Linked DNA regions of Homo sapiens: region 1 is linked to region 2. The links are contacts of gene promoters, found by promoter capture Hi-C in blood cells and fetal thymus (Javierre and others, 2016). All regions are on one chromosome and are shown on one strand. The core of a region is centred on a gene start or on the middle of the fragment in contact, and the rest is flanking DNA. Distances in the headings are between cores, read along the strand shown. Region 1 overlaps DOCK2 (dedicator of cytokinesis 2). Region 2 holds the start of KCNMB1 (potassium calcium-activated channel subfamily M regulatory beta subunit 1).

What was found. The method cuts DNA at HindIII sites, captures the fragments that hold promoters and counts their contacts. A CHiCAGO score of 5 or more calls a contact.
Region 1: a contact is called between a fragment that was not itself captured here and the fragment with the promoter of KCNMB1 in region 2, in 2 of 17 cell types (naive CD4 T cells and neutrophils). The highest score is 5.6, in naive CD4 T cells.

The regions. Positions count from the first base shown.
Region 1 is chr5:170,079,272-170,082,469 of GRCh38, forward strand. DOCK2 (dedicator of cytokinesis 2) reads left to right here. Exons shown (of 52, transcript NM_004946.3): 50 at 892-1,012; 51 at 2,571-2,713. Among named protein-coding and RNA genes, the nearest start is that of FOXI1, 25 kb to the right of the region's middle. The HindIII fragment of the contact is 7,937 bases long and covers 1-3,198 here.
Region 2 is chr5:170,387,322-170,390,676 of GRCh38, forward strand. It overlaps KCNMB1 (potassium calcium-activated channel subfamily M regulatory beta subunit 1), which reads right to left and starts at 2,046. Exons shown (of 4, transcript NM_004137.4): 1 at 1,938-2,046. It overlaps KCNIP1-OT1 (KCNIP1 overlapping transcript 1), which reads left to right and starts at 2,172. Exons shown (of 3, transcript NR_109899.1): 1 at 2,172-2,282. It also overlaps a transcript of KCNIP1 not described here. RefSeq lists enhancers at 161-661, 662-1,162, 3,087-3,355. The HindIII fragment of the contact is 12,470 bases long and covers 1-3,355 here.

The DNA of each region.
Region 1 (3,198 bases), core at 391-2,890, 310 kb before region 2:
GCAGAGGCGGCACCTGAGGAGCTGAGAGGTGAAGTGCTTACTCGTGCCCAGGCAGCTGGGGTGGCTGGGACATGACAGAGCTGGGAGTTGAGCCCTGACCTTTGCACTTCAGAGCCTGTGTGTATCCTTTCCACCATCACACAGGGCTTTTCCAGGCTGGGGAGAATCCACCTGTTCTCCCACCAAAAGGGAGAGCAGCCCACTTGGTACTGAGCTAGGTGTTTCTATAGCCCCCAGCCCCAGGCCTATTCTAACCACTGATGTCTCAGACCCCTGCAAGCCCCTCCTGTGTGCCAGGAGTCCAGGTGGGGATACAGGGATGAAATCTCACTGTCCTGGCTTTGAGAGTGTTGGTCTTGTAAACTAACGATTATTTAAAAATGAGACTTGGTTTCAGACAGCCCTGGATTCAATCTTAGTTTCCCCCTGGAAAAGAGGTTTGTTGGAAGTGTTCTGGGAACCTGGGAGTGGGAGATGGATTAACTGCCCTGGCAAGGGAGGGGTGCCAAATGAAAGAGCAAGGGGCCAACCAAGATGCCTTAGTGAAGAAAGGGCCCTCCAGAAACTTCCCAGTGGGCCTCGCAGGCTACTCTTGCGTGGATGGATAAGAATGGAAATGTCTTCTGTGTTTGTCGATTCTAGGGGACACCATTTACATGATAGTCTAAATGAATGTCCGCCACCCCCGCCTGTAGTTGTGTAGTGTGCAACCTGTGCAACCATATGTGGCAGGCTGGCATGGAATGGTATAATACAGAATAAATGAACTTGGAGCCAGCTTCATAGAAACCATGCCACGCCCTCCTCACTGATCTTTCAGAGACCCAGATCTGCCTCATGCTAAGCCTCTGTCTTTGTGTGTGTGTGTGTGTGTCTGGTGTATTCCTCCAGCTTTCCAGGAAGCATGAGTTCATGAGTGACACCAACCTCTCGGAGCATGCGGCCATCCCCCTCAAGGCGTCTGTCCTCTCTCAAATGAGCTTTGCCAGCCAGTCCATGCCTACCATCCCAGGTATGCCCCCTGCTGCCACCAGCATGAGGGAGTAGAGATAGTGCAGGCCACCAGCCTTGTGGGTGGAGGATGGATGGGAACTGTGTCTACACAACAAAGTGGGCCAGGCATCCTGGAGTGAGAGGCTCTGCTCATAGCCACCCACCCTCTAATCTCTCCCCACACCCACCACTTCCTGGGGGTGACACCATCCCAGCAAGCTCCAGCAGGGACAGGGGAGAGGCCTGCTGTCCCTTGGGCCCTCAGGATTCACTGAGCATCCATTTGTCACACTAGGTGGCCCCTTGTTCTCAGTTAGCCAGGCCTCCCCAGGGGCCAGAAGTTTGCCCTTGGTATGTCCCTAAGACCTGTGGCTTCTTTGTGGACCTGGAAGACTCTTTCTGGCTTTACAGAAATGGCCACCACATCTTATAGCTGCAAAGTGTTTGGTGCATAGATGCTACCTATCTGCCACCGTCGTCACTCACTCACTGTCCAGTGAGGAGGTTAGAGCACAGCCGATGGTCCTAACTCACAGAAGGGAATCTGAGGCCCTAACAGGGGACATGGCATGCCTGAGAGCACTCCATCTGGTAGGCAGAAGTCCTTGACGTCTGCTGCTATGTGCCTGGCTCTGTGTGCTAAGGGCCAGGTCAGAAGGGAACAAGACAGGACCAGTGCTGCCCTGTGGAACTCAGCAGGCCGATCATGGTGAAGACGCTTGCTGTTTCCTGAACATTGAGGGTGCCAGGCCCTGCGCCAACTGCTACTCCTTCTTTATTTCATTTACTCCACTGCGCATACCCAGGAAGTAGTTCATGTTATCCACCCCATTGTATGGATGAGGAAACTGGGGCACTGAGAACATCACTCTCTTGCCTATCACCAGCCAGCAAATGGCAGAGACTGAGTTCAGACCCAGGCCCTCTTCCCTGGAACAGGCACCTACCCACTGCCCCGCCACCACCCCCAGGATAGCCTGAACACAGCTGCAACATTTGGCCCAAGCCATTTCACTGGTATCTGCTCAGCAGGTCTCACCACACCCTGGCGGTCTGGGCTCTTTCTCCCATTTGGCCAATGTCAAAACCAGCAGTCAGAGAGTAACTAATTTTTCATGTCTCTGTGACGCCAAGCTGGGGCTGTAACCACTAGGTCATCTGGCCCCTCCACCAGGTGACACGTGGGTTTGAGACTCTCTTCCCGCTGTCTCCTGCAATGGGGAGAGAAATCCAGGGTGTTGGTGTTGGGAGCTGGAGGAAGAGTAAGCTCACACTGTCCCCTGCCTTGGAGCAGAAGGTTCTGTTTCCTGGGGATGTCAGGGCTTTGGGGCAAGGTTTTGACCAGGAGCCAGGAGGCTGAACCCTTGTCTGTAGGGTGGGCAATCTTCACTGCAAGAGGACAGCTTCAATGTCCCCTGGCACGGCAGGAAATAGGCATCCTGCCTCCTGCTTGGCACATACAATGTGTGATCCCTGGATGCTGGCTCTGTCCCCCAGCCCTCCCCCTGTCTACCTCCCCCAAGGCACTGCCCCTCCTCTACCCACCCATTCACACCCCAGCTCTGCTCTCCTTCCAGCCCTGGCGCTCTCAGTGGCAGGCATCCCTGGGTTGGATGAGGCCAACACATCTCCCCGCCTCAGCCAGACCTTCCTCCAACTCTCAGATGGTGACAAGAAGACACTCACACGGAAGAAGGTCAATCAGTTCTTCAAGACAATGGTGAGGACATTGAGGGTGGAAGGAAAGGAAGGCATTGGGAGGAGAAAGGGAAGAGAGCAATGCAGAGAGAAGAAAATGGGGGGTTGTGTGTGCATATGTGGTCATTCCTAGGGAGGCATAGTCAGGAGGCCCTGAGTTCTGGGACACTGTGCAGCAATGCCCAGAGGGCAGTTCTCCTCTGGGGCCTCAGGCAGCTCCTCTGACCAGGATTGACCCCAGCTAGGGATGTGCAGGACCCAGGGACCTCAGAAGCAGTAGGTGGCCTACCCTCGCCTAAACTGCCCCTTAGTGCTCCAGCCCTTTTTTATTCAACCTATATCACAAAATCCTACAAATTGAACATTAGTTTCCAAGCGCTGATTCTGCAAGTCCCATCTCCTATTGTTACTTGTTGGCCTTTGCTCAAGATCAAGAAGGTACCATAACACATCTGATCCTCAAGGTAATATGAAATCAGGACTCTGCTACTACAAATATCTCAAGTT
Region 2 (3,355 bases), core at 796-3,295:
GAGATTTTCTGCAAAGTGCTCTATTTTCTGCTCAGGCGTCTCTTAACTACTAGACTGTTTCAAATATTCAGAGATTCTTGACTCCCTCCCCTTAGCCAGGCTGCCCTCATACCCGGGCATCTCCGCTAAAGGGAAGAGACCAGGGTCAGGCACCACGGATACCCATCACACCTTCCCAGTGAGCTGGTCCACCTCCCCTATCGATCGGCAGAGGTGACATCCAATGACAACTTTTTCTCCTTTATTTGGCACCAGGAGGTGAGTTTCTCCTGCATTCTAATGGAGACATTATAAAAGCACAAGCAAGCAGAAATTGCCCCCGACAAAGAGAGATGTTTTATTCAACTCTTTTTATTCAATCCTTTTCCTCCTGTTCTGTGATCTTGTGGGAATGGGAGAGCCCATGCCTTTTTCTACCTGGCGTCAGTTGAACAAGACTCTCCATGTATTCACAGGTAAAGCAACAGAATCACCTGGAGGTAAGCTAAAAGCCCCAACAGCCTGCTTCCCCAGGACCTGCAAGGGTCACTGGCACTTGGCCCCACCCCAGATACTGTGAGACATAAATCATTTGAAGCCAATGGGAAATCCCATCTTGGAAGCCTAGGGCTGAGTGCCCACAACAAAGCCATTTCTCTCCTGGGGGAACTGGATCGCACCTGTGGGGGCTTCCTGTGGCTCCTTCCTGGCTAATCAGCCCCCCCCAGCGCCCAGGGCCATGGCCTCCTCTGCTATTTGGCTTCTAGTGCCCTCTCAGGCCCCTGGGCACTCCTGAGGCTGGTGAAGGCAGGAACCTGGTTTTACCAGTTTTAGGAGCTCAGAAGGAAAGGAAAGGAGAGGCTTCCCTGTCACAGAGAAGTCTGGAAACTTGGCTTATTCAGGTCTGACCCGTCTCTAATGGTCTGATGAGATTGTTGCCTGCACTGAGTGAGTTTATAGAGTCATGATAAATCCTCCTAAGACCATGCGTGGGGTTCAGTGTAGATATGACTTCAGCAAGAAGTTAGTATTCAGCATCCAAAGGGAGAACCTTTGGCGGGAGGAAGGATGGGAACTGTCAATATCCCCCAAGGGACAGAAAGAAAAGGAAGAAGTGGGTTTCAGCTATCATAGGAGGGATTTCAGTTAGACTGTAAGAAGAACTTCCCAGTTTTGAGCATTTCTAAATATCTCTGAAGTTCCAGGATATATCTTCCCATTTAGAAAGGTCACTTGAGATCTGGGATAGATTCAGAGAAGATGGAGAAGGACAAAGGAAGGCAGGACTTTGGAGTGTCCTGGGTGACCTGATAGCTGGGTCGACATCCTTTTCCTTAGAAGGACAAGGAATAGAGTACATTGTTGAACAGTTTGGTGGGGTGTGGACAGGGCGATTCTGAGGTCCTCAGACATGGAATCAAATCCTGGCTCTGCCACTTACACTTAGCAACCACATGACTGTGAAACGAGAACCATGGTACCTGCCTCAGAGAGTTCAGCTAAAGATCAAATGCCATATTGAGTATCAGACATGTATCATAGCACCTAGCCCCAAATCAGCCCCCAGTAAATATTAGCTATTACTACTAACGAAGGAAACCCTGAAAGTTTGGAGCAGAAGTCTGGACCCCTCTTGATGAATCTATTTTTGTCCCACCTCTCTACCGGTGACAAGTGCCAGCATTGGTGTTAATCTCCAGGCTGCAGCCTTCTGGCCACTCTGAGAACTGGGACCTAGAGGGCCAGGGCGCTTACTACCAGAGTAACCTGGCCACTGTGCCACCCTCCCCACTGGCCACCAGACCACGGGCCCTCCATCCAGAAGGACAGCCCCGAGAGGAAGGGAGTCCTCCTGCCTGCCTCCCTCCCTGCCCCGTGGCAGGCTGCTTTCCCCTGTCTCCCTCCAGCCCGGTCTTCAGAGAAATCACTTCCCAAGTGCTTTCAGGCCCGGTACTCACAGTCTTCCCGGCGTCCTGTGGGTCTTGAGCAGCAGACAGTTTCTTTCTGCCTGGACCCCCGCCCCCACCCCAAAAGAGGCCACAGAGCTTCAGCAGGAAGTTTGGCCTCCCCGCCCGTCTCCAGGGAAGCAGCTTTTGGTCCCCATCTGGGGCAAGCCTCCATGCCCAAACATGGTCAAGTCTGAGCACACAGCCTGGAGACACAGACTCGGAGAGCAGGTACCCAGCCCTGAGGAAGGCAGCTGTTACCCAAGCCCTGCACCTCCATCTTCCCAGAGTCTCGTGGGAAACAGATTTCAAACAACAACAGACAGCAAGACTGAGAAACTACGAAAGATCAGCCTGGTATATTTGGAAATATTTCTTCTTCTCTCTGTCTCTGTGGGCTGGCAAAGATGCCAGAAATAGGAAATGATTCTCCTTTTGTTGGCATGAGGAAGGGTGGAGTTGGGCTGGAGGGGTTGGGCTTGTCACTAGTCCCTGGCATATCCACGCTGGAGCAGCTACAGCTCCCTGCCTTTGGCACTTACGTGCTGTGTGACCCTGAGCAAGTTATGGCACCTCTCTGGGCCTCAGTTTCCTTTTTTGTTTTTGGTTTTACTCCCAAACTTATCGTTAAATGACCTCAGTTTTCTCACTTGTGTTACTGGCATTTTTAAAACCTACTTTGCTTTAGGGTAGTGATGGGAGTTAGAGACGGTGGGGATTTATGGCAAGGGGAGAGAACTGACTTTTTAAGGACCAACTGAGCTGAAGCTGGGAGTAGTGAGAGCTCCACAACTGCTTCCAACCAGGTCCAGGGACAGTCTGCTCACCAGGGGCCCTCCCAGAGACCGCGAAAGTACAGAGATTTCTTCCTAGCAATAAGACAAGTGAATGTCAGCATTTGCAGGCAAAAAACATGCTTTTAGATCTCTGCTTCTTCATCTGTAAAGTGGAAGTAAGGATTAAAAATCAGCAACAAAGGGCAGGCACAGTGGCCCACGCCCATAATCCCAGCACTTTGGGATGCCAAGGTAGATGGATTGCTCAAGCCCAGGAGTTTGAGACCATCCTGGGCAACATGGCGAAACCCCATCTCTACTAAAAATACAAAAATTAGTCGGGCATAGTGGTGCATGCCTGTGGTCCCAGCTACTTGGGAGGCTGAGGCAGGAGAATCGCTTGAACCTGGGAGGCGGAGGTTGCAGTGAGTCAAGATTGTGCCACTGCACTCTAGCCTGAACAGAGCGAGACCCCGTCTCAAAAAAAAAAAACAAATATATATATATATATATATATTTTCAACAAAACAACAAAAACAATCCCAGATATTGGGGCTTTCCTAAGTATCAGGCGTGGTGGTAGAAGGCAGCTTATCTCCACCCTTCACTTGACCCAAGAATCAAAGAACCTGAAACTGAGACTTGGAGGCTTGA